Linked DNA regions of Homo sapiens: region 2 is linked to region 1. The links are contacts of gene promoters, found by promoter capture Hi-C in human tissues and cell types (Jung and others, 2019). All regions are on one chromosome and are shown on one strand. The core of a region is centred on a gene start or on the middle of the fragment in contact, and the rest is flanking DNA. Distances in the headings are between cores, read along the strand shown.

Region 1 (5,501 bases), core at 1,406-3,905:
ATGGTGAAACTCTGTCTCCACTAAAAATACAAAAATTAGCTGGGTGTGGTGGCACGCACCTGTAATCCCAGCTACTCGGGAGGCTGAGGCAGGAGAATGGCGTGAACCCGGGAGGCGGAGCTTGCAGTGAGCCGAGATTGCGCCACTGCACTCCCGCCTGGGCCACAGAGCGAGACTCCGTCTCAAAAAAAAAAAAAAAAACAAACCAAAACAAGACAAAACAAACCAAAACAAAAACCTATGATGAAACTGCACCACACAACCAATAAAATAGTTAAAAGACTAACCATACCAAATTACGGAGAGGATATGAAGCAACTGGAACTCTCATACATTGCTGGATGGAGTGTAAACTGGAACAACCACATGAGAGCTTCGTAGTATCTATTAAACATTAGCCTACCCTATGATCTAGCAATGCCACTCCTAAGTATTAACCCGGGAGAAAAGCCTTCATGTGTTCACCAAAAACACAGCAGAGTGTTCACAGCTGCAGCATCATTTGTAACAGCCCCAAATTGGAAGCTACCCAAATATCCATCAACAATGTAATCGACTAATATACTACAATATATCCCCAGTATAGTGAGAGCTAAGTACAATTACACTGAACAACATGAATGAATTTCACAAACATAATATATAACAAAAGAAGCCTGGCATAAAACAGTACATGCTGCATAATTGCATATATACATGAAGTTCAAGAATGTGTAAGACAGCCAGATGCACTGGCTCATGCCTGTAATCCCAGCACTTTGGGAGGCCAAGGTGGGCGGATCACCTGAGGTCAGGACTAGCTTTGCCAACATGGGGAAACCCTGTCTCTACTAAAAATACAAAAATTAGCCGGGTGTGATGGGTGCCTGTAATCCCAGCTACTCAGGAGGCTGAGGCAGGAGAATCGTTTGAACCCAGGAGGCGGAGGTTGCAGTGAGCCAAGATTGCATCACTGCACTCCAGCCTGGGTGACAAGAGCAAGACTCTGTCTCAAAAAAAAAAAAAAAAAAAAAAAAAAGAATGGGTAAAACTAGTTAATGATAGAATTCTGAATAGATTGTGTGGGGGAGAAATTACTGAGAAGTGGTATGAGGGAAGCATCTCAGGTCCTGGCAAAGTTCTTTGTATAGATCTAAGAGTGTTACACAGCTGTACACTTAAGATTTGCACACTTTATATAGGCTCTATGTATCTATTGACAGCCTCCTGCTCTGTTGCCCAGGCTGAAGGGCAGTGGTATGATCATGGCTTCCTGCAGCTGCAAAGCACTGGGCTCAAGCGATCCTCTCATCTCAACCTCCTGAGTAGCTAGGACTTATAGGTGCCAGCCACCATGCCCGGCTAATTTTTTATGTATGTATGTATTTATGGTAGAGTTAGGGTCTCACTATGTTGCCCAGGCTGGTCTCCAGCTCCTGGCCTCAAGTGATCCTCTCACCTTGGCCTGGCAAAGTGCTGGGATTACACGCATGAGCCTCCACACTTGGCCTACAAAAATTTTTTTAACTCTTGGAACTATGCTTTGGTAGGGATATGGAGCAATAAGATATTTCAAACATTGCTGTTCAAGTACAAATTTGTGCAGCCACTCGGGTATATATTTTGACACTGTTTAGTAAAGTGGAAGATATATGAACCGGCAATTCTGCTGGTAAATAAACTCAAGCATGTGTACCCCATGTGAAAGAATGTGGCTGTGTTGTTTATAAAATGAAAAGCTATAAATAACTAATAGGGCATCATTACTAGAAAGGATGAATAATTGTGGTATACTTCAGAAGGGAGAATATAGCAAAGAAATTGAATTAACCGCGATTTTATCTAATAGGGATGATTCACAGAATTGTAAAAATAAACCAAAGACAGTATGACAACATTCATATAAAGTTTTAAAACGGGGAAAAACTGGAGTATAATGCCTAGAGAAGTATACGTAAGTGATAAAACCTCACACTGTGTGACTTACCCTGCCACACAAACCTGATCACACTCCCACCATGGGGACATTCAGCTACAGACAATCCACGCCCAAAGCAACAGGGTCGCACACGCAGGGCCTCTATCGGTCACATAAGCACAAGTGCACGCTTACCGAGGAGGCAGTCACAGTCACAACCACATTGTCACAGTCGGCGCACACCTGTACCGGGTCACAGTCACGATCACACATTAACCACAGCCACACACACAGATAGAAACATGCAGTTACTCGCAGGTATCCCCACCTGAACTCTGCCGCACACAGTCACACAGCATATAGTCGCACACCACTACGGGGACAAACGCAGTAACACTCAACCAGGCACAAGCTCCCCACAGCCGCACACACAATGCCGCACGTGGTCCTGCTCCCTCTCACACACACACCAGCAGCCACAGTCTCCGAGGCCGTGCTGCACACGGTGTGAGCGTTGGAAACACACTCATCACAAGGGCAGCCTGTCACAATCGCGCGATCATTCACCACACACCTCCACACAGACGCAAGCGCACGCTTTCAATCTCACCTCCACCGCCGCACAAAGCCGAGGCTTGGCCCCCGGCCCCGCCCTCTCCCGGGTTTCTCACCTCAGGCCTTACCAGCTTTCGAAGCAGCAGAACCCTCCCCGGCACTGGGGTAGTTGCTGGTAAAGCCCTGAGGGTCCCGCCAGCGCGTGAGTTGGAAGCTGAATTACCGCGAGAAGTACAGTCTTGCCGAGGAGACCTCTGGGAAGCGTAGTCAGAGACGTATCAAGGCCGGACAAGATGGTTCCCGATCGTCAGAATTCCTGTCCGCGCCTTGCGTCAGCCCCGCCGAAAGGATCGCCCCCCCTAGTCAAACCGCTCGCGCCCCAGAGGCCTCATGGAGTCCCGCCTCAGGCTCGGGCCTTGGCCCCCAAAGAAAGCCACTCCGACGTGTTTGAGATGGGCTTAGTTCCCGGACCCGTCCTACTGCCCCCAGGCGCTGGACAGCCTCAGAAAGAGGACAAGTCTGCATGGAAAGATAATCGCACAACTGAGCCTTCTGGGAGATGTAGTTCGGAGCTGGGAAGGCGGTTGGACCCTCCGAAAGTCATCTTAATTGCTCTCACAGATAAGCCGGTGCTGGGCTGCCGGCCTGAGTACTGTGCGCCCAGAGTGCGCAGGCGCAAACATCCTGGGTTGCTGTTTTGGCCTCTTTGTTCGGGCGTGAATTTTGTTTATTGCTCCTTAGTGCAGAGGGGTTATGGGACCAGAGGTTGTGAGACTCAGAAGTGGTTGGGGACGCAGAAGGGGTGTAGACCAGGAACCTGCGACCTGATGGGGGGAGGTCGAAGGGAAAGGAATCGCCAAACGTGGGACAGGTTTGGAGAGGCAGAAAGAGAGGAGTCTGAAATTGCAAAGGGCAGGTGTTATTCTGACTTCTGTGTGCTTTGTGATAAATGAGTGGGGCAGGAAGTAAGAGGAGTTTCACTTTCTCCTTCTGCAATTATTTGTGTACTTGGACTAAGTGTATCTCATGGCCAGTATTTGACTGCTTTTGACCTATAAAGGTATTGTATACACAGTCATGCATAGTTTAATAATAAGGATATATGCTCTCCCCACGGTCTCCCTCTCCCTCTCTTTCCACGGTCTCCCTCTGATGCCGAGCCAAAGCTGGACTGTACTGCTGCCCTCTCGGCTCACTGCAACCTCCCTGCCTGATTCTCCTGCCTCAGCCTGCCGAGTGCCTGCGATTGCAGGCGCGCGCCGCCACGCCTGACTGGTTTTCGTATTTTTTTGGTCTCCACCAAACACAGGGTTTCGCTGTGTTGGCCGGGCTGGTCTCCAGCTCCTAACCGCGAGTGGTCCGCCAGCCTCGGCCTCCCGAGGTGCCGGGATTGCAGACGGAGTCTTGTTCACTCAGTGCTCAATGGTGCCCAGGCTGGAGTGCAGTGGCGTGATCTCGGCTCGCTACAACCTCCTCCCAGCCGCCTGCTTTGGCCCCCCAAAGAGCCGAGATTGCAGCCTCTGCCCCGCCGCCACCCCATCTGGGAAGTGAGGAGCTTCTCTGCCTGGCCGCCCATCGTCTGGGATGTGAGGAGCCCCTCTGCCTGGCTGCCCAGTCTGGAAAGTGAGGAGCGTCTCTGCCAGGCCGCCCATCGTCTGGGATGTGGGGAGCGCCTCTGCCCCGCCGCCCCGTCTGGGATGTGAGGAACGCCTCTGCCTGGCCGCGACCCCGTCTGGGAGGTGAGGAGCGTCTCTGCCCGGCCGCCCCGTCTGAGAAGTGAGACCCTCTGCCTGGCAACCGCCCCGTCTGAGAAGTGAGGAGCCCCTCCGCCCGGCAGCCGCCCCGTCTGAGAAGTGAGGAGCCCCTCCGTCCGGCAGCCACCCCGTCTGGGAAGTGAGGAGCGTCTCCGCCCGGCAGCCACCCCATCCGGGAGGGAGGTGGGGGTCACCCCCGCCAGGCCAGCCGCCCCGTCCGGGAGGGAGGTGGGGGGGTCAGCCCCCCGCCCGGCCAGCCGCCCCGTTCGGGAGGGAGGTGGGGGGGTCAGTCCCCCGCCCGGCCAGCCGCCCCGTCCGGGAGGCGAGGGGCGCCTCTGCCTGGCCACCCCTACTGGGAATTGAGGAGCCCCTCTGCCCGGCCAGCCGCCCCGTCCGGGAGGGAGGTGGGGGGGGGTCAGCCCCCCGCCCGGCCAGCCTCTCCGTCCGGGAGGTGAGGGGCGCCTCTGCCCGGCCGCCCCTACTGGGAAGTGAGGAGCCCCTCTGCCTGGCCACGACCCCATCTGGGAGGTGTACCCAACAGCTCATTGAGAACGGGCCATGATGACAATGGCGGTGTTGTGGAATAGAAAGGCGGGAAAGGTGGGGAAAAGATTGAGAAATCGGATGGTTGCCGTGTCTGTGTAGAAAGACGTAGATATGGGAGTCTTTTCATTTTGTTCTGTACTAAGAAAAATTCTTCTGCCTTGGGATCCTGTTGATCTGTGACCTTACCCCCAACCCTGTGCTCTCTGAAACATGTGCTGTGTCCACTCAGGGTTAAATGGATTAAGGGCGGTGCAAGATGTGCTTTGTTAAACAGATGCTTGAAGGCAGCATGCTCGTTAAGAGTCATCACCACTCCCTAATCTTAAGTACCCAGGGACACAAACACTGCCGAAGGCCGCAGGGTCCTCTGCCTAGGAAAACCAGAGACCTTTGTTCACTTGTTTATCTGCTGACATTCCCTCCACTATCGTCCTATGACCCTGCCAAATCCCCCTCTGCAAGAAACACCCAAGAATGATCAATTAAAAAAAAATAAATAAATAAATAATAAGGATATATTCTGGCCGGGTGCGGTGGTTCACGCCTGAAATCCCAGCACTTTGGGAGGCTGAGGGGTTTGAGACCAGCCTGGGCAACATGGTGTAAACCCCGTCTATACTAAAAATGCAAAAATTAGCCGGGCATGGTGGTGCGCGCCTGTAGTCCCAGCTACTCGGGAGGCTGAGGCAGGAGAATCGCTTGAACCCAGGAGGCAGAGGTTGCAGTGAGCCAAGATTGCACCACTGCAC
Region 2 (5,501 bases), core at 1-2,500, 390 kb before region 1:
CTCCAGAGGTCAAGCTCATGGACCGAGGCGGAAGCCAGCCCAGAGCAGGTACTGGCTACGCCTCCCCAGACAGGACCCACGTGAGTATTGGGCCCACCTCCGTCAGGGCACGGGGCTGGGAACCCTGAGGCCTTGTCCTCACCTCAGAGCTGTGCCTGCAGGTCCTCGCTGCAGGGAAGGCTGAAGAGACCCTGGAGGCCTGGCGCCCACCACGTGAGTGCCCCAGTCCCAGACGGACAGTCCTGGGTTTCTCGGCGAGTGGCCGGATGTCCAGCCTAGCTGTGGGGCGTGGGGGCCCTAGCCATCAGTTCTGTGTGGTGGAGTCAGTGCCATCTGCTTCCGTTACAGCTCCCTGCCTTACGAGCCTGGCGTCCTGTGTCCCTGCTTCCTCCGTGCTGCCCACAGACAGGAATCTCCCAACGCCCACATCTGCACCCACCCCAGGCCTGGCTCAGGGTGTCCATGCCCCCTCCACCTGTTCCTACATGGAGGCCACTGCCAGCTCCCGTGCCAGGATATCACGCAGCATCTCCCTCGGTGACAGTGAGGGCCCTATCGTGGCCACACTGGCCCAGCCCCTCCGTAGGCCATCGTCCGTTGGGGAGCTGGCCTCCTTGGGCCAGGAGCTTCAGGCCATCACCACCGCGACAACACCCAGTTTGGACAGTGAGGGCCAAGAGCCTGCCCTGCGTTCCTGGGGCAACCACGAGGCCCGGGCCAACCTGAGACTGACCCTGTCAAGTGCCTGTGATGGGCTCCTGCAGCCCCCCGTGGATACCCAGCCTGGCGTCACCGTCCCTGCAGTGAGCTTCCCAGCCCCTAGCCCTGTGGAAGAGAGCGCCCTGAGGCTCCACGGCTCTGCCTTTCGCCCAAGTCTCCCAGCTCCTGAGTCCCCTGGCCTTCCTGCCCACCCCAGTAACCCCCAGCTTCCAGAGGCCCGGCCTGGCATCCCTGGCGGCACTGCCTCCCTCCTGGAGCCCACCTCCGGTGAGTACAGCCCTGGAGCAAGGACTGTCCCCTAAGCTCATCCTGTGTGCTAGTTGGCTCAGCTCCAAAGATGGATACTTGACCTGGCCACAGGGACTGTGCCATTCATTCATTCGTGCATTAACTTAAATATTTAATGAGCATTACATGTTGGGCTTTGTGCTAAACCCTGGGACATGGGACATGGTGGTAAACAACACAGAGAACTGACAGCTTCAATGGGGACAATGCCCAGACTAAACCTTTAAGGAACCCGTCATATGTATCACGAAGTGACACATGCTTAGGAGGGACAGAGGAGGGCGAGGGAGTGCAGGGTGGGGACAGGGGTTGGGATTACAAACCAGAAGATAAGAAGAGGCTTCAGGGAGGAGGCTGCATTGGAGCAGAGACCTGTAGGAGTGAAGGGGAGGGAGCCTTGGGGACCCAGAGAAGTGTTCCAGACAGAAGTACAGCATGGAGTCCACCCAGTCGCTCTGGCCGCTCACACCAATGGAATGCAGCTCATCTTGCTCATTCCCTTCTCTCTACCCCAGGTGCACTTGGTCTGTTACAGGGCAGCCCTGCCCGCTGGAGTGAGCCCTGGGTGCCGGTTGAAGCCCTGCCCCCATCTCCCCTTGAGCTGAGCAGGGTGGGGAACATCTTGCACAGGCTGCAGACCACCTTCCAAGAAGCCCTCGACCTTTACCGTGTGGTGAGCTAAGCCCCAGAGTTGGGAAAGGGTTGAGGGGTCTCTTGAGACCGCCCGGCCTTGGTGGCCCCTGACAAGGCTGGCATCCCTTGCAGTTGGTCTCCAGTGGCCAGGTGGACACCGGGCAGCAGCAGGCACGGACTGAGCTGGTCTCCACCTTCCTGTGGATCCACAGCCAGCTGGAGGCTGAATGCCTGGTGGGGACTAGTGTGGCCCCAGCCCAGGCTCTGCCCAGCCCAGGACCCCCGTCCCCACCGACGCTGTACCCCCTGGCCAGCCCAGACCTGCAGGCCCTGCTGGAACACTACTCGGAGCTGCTGGTGCAGGCCGTGCGGAGGAAGGCACGGGGGCACTGAGGGCGCAGCCCCTCCACCGCAGCCCTGCTGCTTCTGAGGACTTAGGTATTTTAAGCGAATAAACTGACAGCTTTGAGGAATGGTTCCTGGTGTCTGTTTGGGCCTATCCACAAAGCCCTCTTCAAGTGGAAGTGGGGAGGGAGGGTAGAAGGTGATGCCCAGAGGACTCGTGTCTGTCAGTGGAGAGCATGGGACCAGCGCTCCCAAGAAGTTCAGGAACTGCAGCCATGACCTCAGGGCCAGTCCTCCCACACTGCCCACAGAGCTGCCACAGACCAGTGTGAGGTGCTTACCCAGTGGGGCCCATTTGTGCCCCAGGGAGGAGCCAGACCCTCTTACCTGCCCCCTGCCAGTGCCTGAGAACTCACTGGGGCTGCTGTGATCACCATGTGCCTACCTTGCCCAGCAGTCCACGCTTTGCCATATCATGGCTCAGGGCCTCTGGGCCAAGGCCACACTAGATCCCACAAAGTCCACGGTGGTGGTGTCCCCATCTGCAACAGGGGAAACTGAGGACCCATGAACAGGCTTGCCCAAGCTGGGTATGGTGGCCTGCACCTATAATCCCGGCTACTCAGGAGGCTGAGGTGGGAGGATCGCTTGAGGCCAGGAGTTTGAGACCAGCCTGGGCAACTTGGTGAAACCCCATCTCTTTATTTCATGTATTTATTTATTTATTTTTGTTTTTGAGATGGAATCTTGCTGTGTCATCCAGGCTAGAGTGCAGTGGTGCGATCTTGGCTCACTGCAACCTCCGCCTCCCGGGTTCAAGCGATTCTCCTGCCTCAGCCTCCCGAGTAGCTGGGATTACAGGCACCCACCACCATACTCAGCTGATTTTTGTATTTTTAGTAGAGACGGGGTTTTGCCATGTTGGCCAGGCTGGTCTCAAACTCCTGACCTTGGGAGATCCGCCCACCTCGGCCTCCCAAAGTGCTGGGATTACAGGCATGAGCCACCGCACCTGGCCAAAACCCCGTCTCTTTAAATAAAACAAAATAAAACAAGAAACCCAGGCAGGCTTGCCCACTGTATGATCCTGGCAGCAGGCCCAGGCCACGAGCAGCTGGGACCAATAACTGCTTCCCCTTCAGAAGTTCTACATTCCACGAGCTCCCAGCACTGCTACCAGCTCCCCCAGACAGCAGGCATCTGGCCACATGGGGTGTCTGCTAAAAAAGCCACTCTTGGCTGGGGTGTGGTGGTGCACACCTGTAGTCCCAGCTACTCAGGAGGTTGAGGCAGGAGAATCGCTCAAACCCAGGAGGCAGAGGTTTCAGTGAGCTGAGATCACACCATCATTGTACTTCAGCCTGGGTGACACAGCAAGTCTCAAAAAAAAAAAAAAAAAAAATCCTGCCAGTTCCCACCCAGGTGCCGGGCACTGTAGCAGAAGGAACATCAGGCAACGCACCTGCCCTCATGGCCACTCACCTTCTATACAGTCAAACAGATGCAGGAATTAGAGCTCTGTATAATTCTAGATAGGTTGGGGAGATCCATTGCTGGTGAAGGGTCAGGGAAGGCCTTTCGAGGTGACATTTGGGCTGAAGCTTGATAGAGGACATCTCAGGAACACATCCAGGCCGACAGCACAGCCAGTGCACAGGCCTGGGGCAGCCACACGTGATCTGTGTGGAAGCAAGAGGAGCGAAGCCCGGACGGCTGGAATGGAGTGAGCAAGGGGAGGGCAGGAGCTGAGGTGCAAGGAGGAGCAGGGCCTTGTTGCTTCATAACATTTAAGTCCAAGGAATATCCAGAACAGTTTTTTGTTTTTGGGTTTGTTTCTAAATCTCTGCTCTTAATGTTTGGGGGATATCCAGTGTTGCTTATTTCTCACGACTCTGCCTCAGGGAGTCCAGGTGGTCCAGAACTTGAACCACCTGCCTAGGCCTAGGCCCATCTGCCTAGTTCGGCCACCATTGCCCAAAACCTTGCCCAACATCCCTGGGCAAAGCTTGGTGTTCAGCCCCCCAGGCCTCGGACACCCAGGAGACCACCTTGGGCCTCTGTCATGCATGGAATTACCCTTCCTTCCAACCTGTATCATAGTAAAGTCTTCTGCTCCAAGGAGTAAACACCTGGCTTTCAGGGCCCAAGATGGAGGGACGTTGGTTACCCTTGATGTCATCATGCACCTGGCCTCTTCCTCTCCTGCTCTGTTATCCTCTGTGAGCAAGCTTCAGTCTCCAGCTTATGGCCTCATGGTTGCAACACGGCTGCTGTGGCACCCAGCAGCACACCCTCAGGTGGTGTCTCCATTTTGCAATTGTTGGCTTTCCTGCAGCCCTGACTGAAGTGCCTGGCATAAGCCTGGAAGCGCAGGAGCTAGAAGCTGCCCCGATAGTACTGCTATGGGGAGGCTGAGGTTAGATGTGGAGTGCAGGGGGCTCACAGAGGGTGACAGCAGGAGAGGAAGAGGCCAGGTGCACAATGACATGAGGGTCAGAGGCCCAAGTTATTGGTCCCAGCTGCTGGGTGGCCTGGTCCAACCAGGAGCAAAGGCACAGAGCAGGGCACCCTCTAGGGCAGCAGAAAAGATGCAGATCTCTCCCAGGGGTCTCCCTGGGAGACTCATCTGGGGTCAGATGAGTCCCAGGCAACAGGAATGGAGATTGCTTTGATGTGCTTGGACCATCTCTCCTGTCCTGGGCATGTTGCAGCTCAAACAAAGAGGTTCTCTCAATAAGAAAGGCAAGTGGGCTGGTAATCAGAGAGGATCCAGCATGTCTGCCACTTCCCTCTTCCAAATGCCAGGCTCTGTCCTGGAAGGACCATACTTTCTCCATACTTCTTAACCAGGATAAACCACCTGGTTAAGAAGCCACTGCTGGTGGTGCAGCATGTGTGCATGTGGTTTGTGAGCTGACAGGGTCCCAGCAGAAAGATGACAGCATGCTTAGATGGGATATTCCAAAGAGTTTAACCAAGGGATCATTTGCAAAGGAGCAGCAGGGACTGGGAAACCACCGAGGCTGGTGCAGAACCCCAGGACTGGCACCCTGGGAGCTGTTACCACCCCCAGGCCACAAGGCACAAAGAGAAGGAACAAGAACCCAAAAGAGCAAATCCCAGGGAGAGGGTAGTGCTGAGGGAGCTGCAGCCCTGACTCCCACACAGGACGGAGTGAGAATCAACACCCTGACCTTACTCCCCTCCTGCAGGGCACCCCATTGTCCAAATCCTACTGGAAGCCAGAGTGCATAGAAGCCCAGGTGACCCCGCCTCCAGTCAACCTCCTAGGCCATGGAGCAGGGCAGAACAGGACTGAGAGGGTTCCTGGGGAACTGGGTCCCTGGAAGGAAAACAGTTCATCTTTCACTGCAACTCCCCCCCTGCTTCTACCCCCACATCTACCCTTGGCCTCCCCATAGCAGTACCATCAGGACAGCTCCTGGGTCCTGAGCTGCCAGGCCCGTGCCAGGCATCCCAGTCAGGGCTGCAGGAAAGCCAACAATTGCAAAATG

The links. The method cuts DNA at HindIII sites, captures the fragments that hold promoters and counts their contacts. A contact is called where the count stands out against the background at its distance.
Region 2: a contact is called between a fragment that was not itself captured here and the fragment with the promoter of ZNF566 in region 1, in 1 of the 25 tissues and cell types used here (small bowel).

What each region holds. Positions count from the first base shown.
Region 1 is chr19:36,486,906-36,492,406 of GRCh38, forward strand. It overlaps ZNF566 (zinc finger protein 566), which reads right to left and starts at 2,656. Exons shown (of 5, transcript NM_001145344.1): 1 at 2,581-2,656. ZNF566-AS1 (ZNF566 antisense RNA 1) reads left to right here and starts at 2,722. Exons shown (of 1, transcript NR_036504.1): 1 at 2,722-4,135. RefSeq lists enhancers at 1,752-2,639, 1,946-2,025, 2,586-3,145, 2,640-3,525. The HindIII fragment of the contact is 11,175 bases long and covers 1-5,501 here.
Region 2 is chr19:36,102,995-36,108,495 of GRCh38, forward strand. WDR62 (WD repeat domain 62) reads left to right here. Exons shown (of 32, transcript NM_001083961.2): 28 at 1-80; 29 at 162-213; 30 at 349-987; 31 at 1,524-1,681; 32 at 1,774-2,114. The coding sequence ends at 2,034. Among named protein-coding and RNA genes, the nearest start is that of OVOL3, 5.4 kb to the right of the region's middle. The HindIII fragment of the contact is 5,077 bases long and covers 1-3,789 here.